2 separate regions of the Homo sapiens genome follow, and region 1 is linked to region 2. Evidence: promoter capture Hi-C in 16 types of primary human blood cells and fetal thymus (Javierre and others, 2016). All regions are on one chromosome and are shown on one strand. The core of a region is centred on a gene start or on the middle of the fragment in contact, and the rest is flanking DNA. Distances in the headings are between cores, read along the strand shown.

Region 1 (4,939 bases), core at 1,156-3,655, 7.2 Mb after region 2:
AACTCCTCCCTCGGCCCCTTTAAAAAATCTCTGTTTTTTCTTTATTTTTTTTCTGTGTCTTCCTCTTTTGCTGACTTTGATAGCATCCTGGCTCTGGACTGGTCTTTAAGTATCTAGAAGTGAGTGTAGGAGGGGTGGCTGGGAAGGTGGAAAATAGATTCTAAGACCCCTAAGCAGATTGTGCGACCCTAATACTGGCCCTTTGAATTTACTTTCTGGTAAAAAAGGGACTGGGATAAGTGACTATTGGGCTCTGGGTCTTTTAGAATTTGACAGAGCTTTACAAATGGAACATGGTTTCTTTAGTGGGGCTCTTACTTACACGTTTGGAACTTTCTAGACCTGGATTAGAAAGCAGGGCTCTGCTGACTGAGAATTGTTTTAGTTCAGTGGTCTTAAAGCTGAGTACGGGAGAAAGTACATACAGGGAAAGAAATAGGCTATATCAGCTGCCCAAACAATGATAGAAAGTACACTTTCCTACCATTGACACAGATACCGGCAGTCCCTTGTAGATAGATGACCTGTAGCAACCAAGGAAGCTTTAAGGGGAATGTGTGGGCTTCATAGGGTGGTTTGTTTGCTTTCTGATATTGTGACATAGTTTAGGTGTTCGAAGTTAAGTGGATTTATGGATTCTAATATCTATAATTAGAATGTTTATCTTGTTTTGTAAAAGAATGAGCGGTGACCTTGATAATATTTGTAACACAAAATAGTTCTTACAGGTTCGCTTCTCCCCATCACTGCCCCTTTACACCATCCTCTACATGTTATTTAATGAAAAACCACTTGAAAGGGTTACCAAGGATAAGATTTTTAAAGCTTGCTTTCACAAACAACTCATGCTCCAGGCTTGTCAGTGGCATGCTTCCAGGTGGATATTATTTTAAAAAATTGACTACATTTCCCGTCGTCCCTTGGTGTCCGTGGAGAATTGGCTCCAGGACTCCCTCCCTCCCCCCAGTCTCTTTCAGATACCCAAATCCACCCATGCCAAAGTCCTCCAGTCTGCTCTCCGTATCCGTGGTTGGGTCAAATCTATAGATGTGGAACCCGCATATACGGAGAGCCAACTGTAATTTGTCGTTAAGGTAAAGGATAAAAATTTTAAGTGAAAAAGCAATTGTTTTGGAAGGAAATTCTCTAATACAGGATTTTGAAAGGGGATGTAGACGTGTTTGCATTACTGTATGTTTAATGCTGAAAATTATATATTGTACATAAAAGTTGTCCTGTATACTCATAAACTGTAGAAGCTCGATTTTCTACCATGTTTAAAACTTTTTCAAATGAGTTTTGGTGACTTTTTGAACTCATTCAAAATATAATGCAACACCTCCCCATTAGTTTGTTACAGGAACAACTTTTTGACGTGAAGGAAGATAGAAATTTAGCCATAAAATTCCATCCAAAACTTCCACTGAATTGGTAGGTAGTATTGAAAAATGTGCATCATAATTTGATATGGCTGCCTGTGCCCTTGTTATGTTTGTGGGTACGCGTCTTTGCTGTGCATCGCTTTTATCTGTTGCAGCTGTTAACAATTGATGATCAAGAGAAATTGGACCTCAGCTGGTCTTCAAATTGATGTAGCCCAAGATGTTAAGCCAGATTTTTTAAAAATGACAAAACATGTGGTTTCACTATTAGTAATAGTAATACTGAAGAACACTTTGTACCATTGTAAAGAAAATTATAATAATAGCTAAGACTCATGTGGCCCTTACTGCATGCCTCCCATTATGGAAATGTTGTTTTACATATATTCTTACTAGTCTTCATCAACACTTAAAGTAGTTCCTGTAATTATGCCCAATTATAGAGTTGAGGAAACTGATGCATTTTTTTTTTCAATAGAAACTTGTGTTGTTCCCCCTCCAGGAGCTTCTCAAAACAGAAGTCAGGCACAATATTAAATACTTGTTGAATGATCACAGAAGTACAATAGTAGGTTAACATATTTAAAGCTTCTCTCAGCTTATTTTAGACTATTATCTGACAACTTTAATGAGATTTTAATTACCGTAGTATTAGAAAATGGCCCTGGGAATGGAGGTGAAGTGTGATACTGGGAAGTAAGTCATCTGCTGGTAGTGGGATGAGATAAATGAGATCAATGTACTAAATCAAGGAAATTGAAATTATTCAGTGTGCAGAAGCAAGCTTACATTTAGGTTATCTTTACATGGTATCAGACTTTAAGCTGGTACATCATGTTTGAGATATCTGGCTAAATTTTATAACATGGAGCTTTGTCCTCCTTTTGAGGATTTCTAACTTGTTAAGTGGATTAAAAGCATTTCATGTGAGGAATCATTTTAAAAAGTATCAGTGTTTATCCTGAAGAAGAAAAAATGAAGGAGTTAAGAGTTAATGCCATCAAATATTTGAAAAAGTGTCATTTGGAGGTGGAAGAGGACTTTACCTGTGTTGTCCTAAGGGAAGATCTTACACTATACTTGAGAGGCAGTCATTATTAAAGGCATTAAAATGAGACGTGTGCTAATAGAATAACTAGATTGTCGTGGAAGTGAGGGAACAGAGTAATCAAGTAGAAATAAGGACACAGGATAGAAATCAATGCCATAGAAATACACATTTGAGAAACCAAGATGAGGAAAGGCTTCATGGAAGTTGGGAATGAAGCTTGGCCTAAAAATACCAGTAGGCACTTGGGTATATGAGTGTGTGTGTGTGTGTGTGTGTGTGTGTGTGTGTTTGTGTGTGTGTATTTCTTGCTAGAGATACAATTGTAGAAATTGATTGGATTAGCTGGAAACCTTGGGGTATGAACTAGAGTCCTCCATTAGCAGAAAAAAAGCAACTGTGTAAGGGAAAAGTGAACCAGTATTCCCTGGGTGAGTAACTTGAGAGATAATTTCATTTGCACCTCCAGAAAACCTTGACAGGCTTTTATTTCCCTCTTTAAACAGGTCAGGAAGTCGAGGTTTAGGGAGGTTAAATAATCTGCCTAAATTCATAAATTTCATAATTGGTAGAACTGAGATGCAGACCCATATTTGAGCCCAAAGCTCTTTCTTTCTCATCACGTGTAGCATTGAGTGTAGGAAATGAAGGAAAAGGAGACAATGGTGATTCTAAGTTTTTCAGTCTGAGGACCAGAAAACTGGTGGTACCCTGGGTTAACAAGGGGTTCATAATAACTTCAGTGTGACAACCTCAGTTTTAGTTACATTCAGTTTAAGGAGCTTGTGATACATTGGGTAGGAGAGTTCATTATGTCACTGGAAAAGTAGAGCTTGATGTGCACATGTTAACATTTGGAGCTTTGGAAATACAGAGGCCAGAGAAGATGGAGAAGATGACAGGGAATGTACCAACCACTCCTTTCAGAAATCTAGTCTGTGTTTTCTAATGTGGTCAGAGAATTGGAAGTGAGTTTCTAACAGTTTATTTTGACAATTTGAATGGAAAAAAAGTTGACTTTTGTACATCATTTCTTGGAGATGATTATTTTGCTGTTATTGATACTATTGAAGTTGACATAATTTCATGTTTTCTCATTAGTCTTTTCCAGTATTTTGCTCCATATCAACTTTTTTGTGTGTCTTTTACTGTATTGTATACTCTGTTCTGGTTTTGTCTTTTTATTGATAACAAATGCCCCTCCAAACAAATTTTGAAATCAACTTTTTTTTTTTTAAACTGCAGGAGTGAAAGGGAAGCAATGCAGAAATCAGAGGGCTCTGGAGGTACACAGTTGAAAAACAGAGCAACAGGTACAGAGCTTTTGTTTTTAAGTGAAGAGGTCAAGTTTGTTCATGGCACTTTCTGTGCTACAGATGGATGCAGGGTGAACTTTATTGCTTGTACCTGGTTTCTATTGATGTTCTGTTTTTTTCCAGGTAACTATGATCAAAGGACATCATCAAGCACACAGTTAAAACACAGGAATGCAGTTCAGGGAAGCAAATCCTCATTGTCAACCAGTTCTCCAGAGTCTGCAAGAAAACTTCATCCTAGACCAAGTGATAAACTGAACCCTAAAACAATTAATCCGGTAGGTCCAAAACTATTCCTAACTCAGTAGATTTTTTAAAGGCATTTCGCACAGTATTGAACAATGCTGGATGCTGTGTTGAGTTTTGTCCCTTTGCTAGTTTTGAGCTAATAATGAGAGAAGGGCATGTGGTTATTATGATGAAGAACTGAGATAATCAGTCACATGTGGGAGTGAGTATGGAGGTAAGGAGACATAGAAGTTAACCTGTTTGGGATATCGCATTGTAGTGCATAGAAAATTGCACTTTAGCTTTAGATTTTATTTGCAGTGTTGTTTTACTTCCCCATATCAATGAATAAACTGTATTCAGTTGCCACAGAATGCTTTTCGTGCTTCTATAGTTGCATAAAGGTCTCTGACCTTTCCTGTGTTCTGTAAATTAGTTCCACCAGAAATCCTAGTTGTAGTACTAACCTCCTTTGCCCTCTCCTAACAATTTAATGAGATTTAATAAACATGGGATTTATGCAGTAAAAATATTCAGAAGTGAACACACCTGTGCAACAACACCAGGTGTTATTTGCCCCATGCCCAACTTTGGTAGGGTGAGATGTTAGTGATTTCAGCCTTCGAAGGGGATTGTGAGGGTGGCTGAAGCTCCTGACTGACTGTGGTGGTAGGTAGGGGTATGGCAGTTACTTAAGGAAGCAAAGGTATAGTGAGCTCTCCAAGACAGAAGGAGTGTCCGACTGGATAAAAGCAAAGTGACAAATAGTTTGAGCGGCTATGTTCCTTTGCTTTTTTCTGTAATCTACAGTGTCAAGGAAATTGAATACCTGAAGAAGGCCCTAATAATCTTGTTGCTCTCACTTCCTTTGCTTATGTTTAGTTGAGGGAGTTTACGGTGACGCTTCAATTTTCTTCCTCTCTTTAAAGAAGTACTTTTTGAATTAATAATATTTAGTGACCTTA
Region 2 (5,094 bases), core at 670-3,169:
TACAAATGTATTGTTATGAGTTGTCATTATCATTTTAAATGGGAAATAAGATCAGTTATGAATTGAATACAGTAAAATTTAAGAGCCAAAACCTTAGACGGCCTTCAAAAGAAAATCTAAATGATGAGAAAACTATAAAAATCTAACAAACTTTTTATTGAATAAAGGTGTTAGAAACAATGATTTATTTATAGCAATTCATTCATTCGAAAAGTTTACTAAGTATACAAAAATTAATATACTTTATAAAGAAAAGTTACCCCAAGTTCCTTTCTTCCCCCAACGTTTAAAGGTAATCAGAGCATATTGTTTTCCTCAGCTTTAAAAATCTGTAACAAAGGATCCAAGAAGACAAGAAAGAAACAAAAAAATACTTCAAATTTTGCATATAAAATTTTACATCTTTCCCAGGTGACCTCGAAACTCAAATGTCAGAACCAAAGGCAGAAGCAGGTATCTGGGCAGTGCCAACTGTCAGGGAGGATGCAAAGAGAAGTCGTCACCAGAGAAACCAGGGTCCGAAATGCAACCAGCAACAGGGAAATGTGAAGCCTTAAACAGGAAATAAAAGCCTGGGTTTCTTTAGACTATGGTTGGGATAAGGAAGGGGAGTACAGGGGTGATAAACTTTAGCAATATTCCCAGAAAGTGTTGGCGCCTTTGACAGAAGCATGGGAAAGAAGGCATCCGGGTAGAGGCTCTTCACTATTTGCTGGTGGAGGGATCATAGACCCCTCTGAGATCTTATGGACCCTCTCCCCAGAGCACGTACCGGGCAGTATTTACTCCATTTCAGGAGTTCCACAGCCTTGGGGTAGGAGCCCCTGCCTAGGAGATAATAAGACTGACGCTGCCTGATATTCTCACGCCCGCATTCATTCATTCGAACAGGGGATCCCTTTTGTCACGCAAGCAGCTCTACCCTCAGCATCCTACCCGTAACAGGAGCTCCATAAACACTTGTTGACTGACTGCTTGTATCGAGTGCTGAGCTGGAAACAGAGGTGATGAACAGGTATGATATTAAAATAGCAACTAGAGTGTACTGAGTGGACACTGTGCTCTAAAGGTTTTATGTGTATTTTCACATTTAATATGTATTTTCACATTTCTCCCTTTGCGGCGGCCCTTTTCAATACCCATCTTACAGATGAAGCTTAAACTGATTAGCAATTTGCCCTCCAATGACCCGACGACTAAGTGGCAGAGCCCCAATTCTCACCCGGGGAATACTGATTCCAGAGCTACGCTCCTGGGAGCTCACGATGCAGTAGAAGCATCAGAAACGGTAAAGGGGGTGGGAGGGGAGGAGTAAGTGTGACCCAGACTACAAGTAAGAGGAGCTAAGATGCCTTGGCAAATCCCTGCCAGTCCTGAGAGGCGGGAAGCTGAAAGGCTGGCCCGAGTCTTGCAGGAGTTCGCAATCCAGGCGGGGAGTTAGGAAGTGACTCTTTTTTAAGGGGGAGCTGGACAGCTCTCGTCGGCCTTCACCAAGCGCCCACTTCGTGTCCGGCCTCAGGCCACACAACCAGAAGGGCCCGGGCCTAGAAGCCCGAGGGCTCGGGGTAACGAGGCGACGCCGGGCGGCGGGGAGGAGGCCGGGGACCGCCGGGGTTCCTGCAGGCCTGGGACGGCGGGCCTGCTCGAGGACTGACCTTCCCGGAGGCGCCGTCCCCCAGCACGACGATTTTCAGTTGCCGGTCCTGGCTCTCCTCCTCAGAGTCCGACATGGTGTCCCGGGAACCAGGCCCGCCCCTCGAGGTGGGGGGGGAAGGGAAGGATGAAGGCTCCGGGGGCGGGGGAGAGGAGGAAGGGAGGTAGTTGCGGCAGGACCCCCGCCCCGGTGTCTCCGCGCCGGCAGGAGGTATTCGAGGAGAATCACTCGGCAAGCGCCATCTTGCCCACCTCCCCGCCCTCTGCGCGCGGCCCCGCCCCCTACGCGCACGTCGGGCGCGCGCCCCCGCCTCAGAGCCAACCCGCGCCGACCGGCGGCCCCGCCTGACGAGCCGAACCACTCGCGGCCCTGGACTGGTGTGGGGGACATTCCGGCGGGAGAGGCGAGGCGCTGCGTTTCCCTTCAGGAGACAGTTGGCTAGAAGAAGAAAAGAAGTGTTCGTTCAAATTAAGGAGAGAAAACGGGAGCAGAGCAGCTTTCAGGCGTTCCATCAAATTCCCTTTTCTCCTTCCCTCTTGAGAAAGTCTCTGAAGGGAATGGTTCAGCCTGACGGGGTGGAGCAGTGACGCCCGGGCTACGCGCCAGGGTTGCCTGGCAGCCAGGAGTTCGAGGACCGGCGGCGGGGCGGGGCCTGTCTCCGGGCACCCGGGACGCCCGTAGCCTGGCGGAGAGCGCCAGAGAGGGCCCCTGAAAAACCGGACCAGGGAAGAGGGTACCTCGGGGCGGATGAGGGGACAGCTGCTAAGGGCCGAGGCTGCTGGGAAGCCTCAGTAGCGGCCGTGAATACAGTGGAGCTCCGGCGCTGCTTATTTCGGCCTAACTCTTGGTTTCCTCATCTGAACAACCCCAGGCTCCCATGGTTCGTTCATCAGACGCTACTGATCGCCAACCTCCTGGCACCCCATCTTTACCCTAAGGCAGCAGTTCTCATAAAGTGTGGTCTAGGGACCTCTGGAAATCCCGATGACCTCAGAACAATTTTCATAATAATACGGACACCTTGTCTGTCTTTCTCACGTTCCTTCTCTCACTAGTATACCGTTTCCTGGAGGATACGCTTTGTGTACGACGTCATCACTGGCAGCTAAGGGAGCTTGCGTTTGTTGTTTTTAAACATTTCTCAGTTTTCATTTCAATGCAGTAGTGATAGGTGTAACCCACATAAACATAAGCTCTTTGGAGGTCACAGTAATTCTTTAACATTATAGAGAGGCCCTGAGTCCAAAAAATTTAAGAACTGCTGCCCTGGATAATCTCAGTCCAGGAGCGTTAGGTAAACGGCATAAATGAAATTTACAATTTAGTGAGGTAAATTCAAAAATAATAATGCTGTCCTGCTATGGTTGTTTCATTGTTAATCACTTAAAATTTATTGTTACCTTTACTACTATTAGGAATTATGAAGTATAATTATCCCCATTTTGCAGATGAAGTATCTTAAGTTAACAAAATGCTTAGCCCAGAGGCAGTAGTCTTGGAGACCATATGGGCATTAGAACAGGAAAGCAGAACAGTGTAAAGAAATGCCCAGACCTAGAGGCATCACTGGAGTTTAATCTCATGTTTACTAGATATGTGTCCTCGAGCCTCAGTTAGTTCACCTGTAGAACAGACTACTGCCTTTGTGTAGGTTTGAAAATTAAATGAAATAATCGGCATAAAGTAGATAGCACAATGCCTGGTGTGTAGTAAGCACTCAATATTAACCAGTGTAACTATCACCCTCATCATCATCATAATTAGATGATGGTCCGTGTTGGAAGTGTCACTACTTTCTAGCCAATTTACCTTATACAAGTTTCTTATGTAGAGCCTCAGTCTCTTCATCTGCAGAGAGGGCTGGCCCACAATTATAGGTACCCAGTTAAGTATTAGTACCCAATTCTTTCCCCAATCCCGCACCACCATTGCCACCACCAATTTTCTATTCACCAGATTTATTCATAAGAATTAGAAGAAAGAGGATATGTACTTGTTAGTGAGAAGAATCTACTTCCAGTGAGGACAGACTTAACCACTTCTTGTCCATGAGGGCAGTTAAAATGCAAGAAAATTTCTTTTCCAGTCTTCCTTAGATAGCTATGTGATCCACCGGACTAATGAGACAGAAGACAGTGTCCTTTGGAAGACATTTGTAAAAGAACCCTCCCCCCACCATTTAAAAAAAAGGAAAAGAAAAAAGGAGAGTTACAGGGGAGTCCTCCTCCTCCCTTCCTTTGCTGTCATTATTAGGTAAGAACAGGATTTTTGGAACTACTACACTTTGTTCACTCTATCTTCTCGGTTTCTTGTTATGGGAAATAATAATATGGTACTTTGGCGATGAATTGTGTTACCTACAAACAAAAAAATTCCAACTGACATAACTACTTCGGCCAAAAACTAGATTTAGCTGAACTCATAGGCCTGATTTTCATATGTGGTTTTATATGAAGGGAAATCTAGAAGAAAGCTTCTCATTTTCCACTCATCAATTTCTGAGATGACTGCTTTGATTGAGAGACAACATTCATTTGGATATGGGTACATCAATAGGATAGTGTTATATAAAACAAAAAGTTGCACTATTTTAGGGATCATATTTTACACATATGGCAAGTTTCTGGGTTAAAAGTTAGAATTTAAAGACTTAGAGCCATTTTTATAAAGAAAAAGAAAAAAAAACTTTCTATGTGAGGAGGACCATTTTAGCATTGAGAGCTTCCAGTATGATACTCTGACATACTAAAGAAACATAGAGCTGATCCACCAAAAAGAATATATCTTTGTGGATTCTCATGTACAATGCTCTTAACAGGGTCAAAAATTAGAGGAATGGTCTTCAGTCATTTTAAAACTAATAGACAAAAGGTTTATAAGAATTCTAGACATTGTATAAAATATCTTTTATAGCATCTCTAACAGATAATTATTCAAACCTTATTTGAATACGTCCACATTCAAGGAGTTTCTTCCTTTATGAAGCAACCTGGCCTGTAGATGGATAGGCCTGGTTATTAAAATATTATCTCTGATGATGAGCCAAAGCTTATCACTATAAATTACAGCTAATGATAATAGGTATGTCTTTCTCAATAAAACGAAAACTCCCCATTCCACAGGAAGATGATCAAAGTGATTCATTAATACTTAGTGACTGCTAGACATGGTGGCTTATACCTGTGATCCCAGCACTTTGGGAGGCCGAGGCAGGAGGGTTACGTGAGCCCAGGAGTTCATGACCAGCCTGGGCAACATAGGGAGATCCTGTCTCTAAAAGAACTTTAAAAAACAAAAATTACCCAGCCAAGCATTGTGGTAGGCGCCTGTGGTCCCAGCTACTTGGAAGGCTGAGATAGGAAGATCACTTGAGCCTGGGAGGTCAAGGCTACAGTGAGCAGTGATCATGCCGCTGCACTCCAGCATGGATGACACAATGA

The links. Contacts are between HindIII fragments. The CHiCAGO score rates a contact against its expected background, and 5 or more counts as called.
Region 1: a fragment that was not itself captured here is called in contact with the fragment with the promoter of RAB28 in region 2 in 7 of 17 cell types (non-activated CD4 T cells, total CD4 T cells, fetal thymus and 4 more); the score reaches 22.4 in non-activated CD4 T cells.

The regions. Positions count from the first base shown.
Region 1 is chr4:20,700,791-20,705,729 of GRCh38, forward strand. It overlaps PACRGL (parkin coregulated like), which reads left to right. Exons shown (of 9, transcript NM_001258345.3): 2 at 3,676-3,743; 3 at 3,870-4,024. The coding sequence starts at 3,692. Among named protein-coding and RNA genes, the nearest start is that of PACRGL, 2.8 kb to the left of the region's middle. The HindIII fragment of the contact is 483 bases long and covers 2,165-2,647 here.
Region 2 is chr4:13,482,421-13,487,514 of GRCh38, forward strand. RAB28 (RAB28, member RAS oncogene family) reads right to left here and starts at 1,920. Exons shown (of 7, transcript NM_001017979.3): 1 at 1,656-1,920. The coding sequence starts at 1,730. LOC105374495 (a long non-coding RNA gene) reads left to right here and starts at 2,029. Exons shown (of 3, transcript XR_925413.1): 1 at 2,029-2,534; 2 at 3,741-3,907. RefSeq lists silencers at 1,452-2,071, 2,065-2,359, 2,322-2,381 and enhancers at 1,805-2,099, 1,895-2,802, 2,062-2,181. The HindIII fragment of the contact is 2,971 bases long and covers 1,155-4,125 here.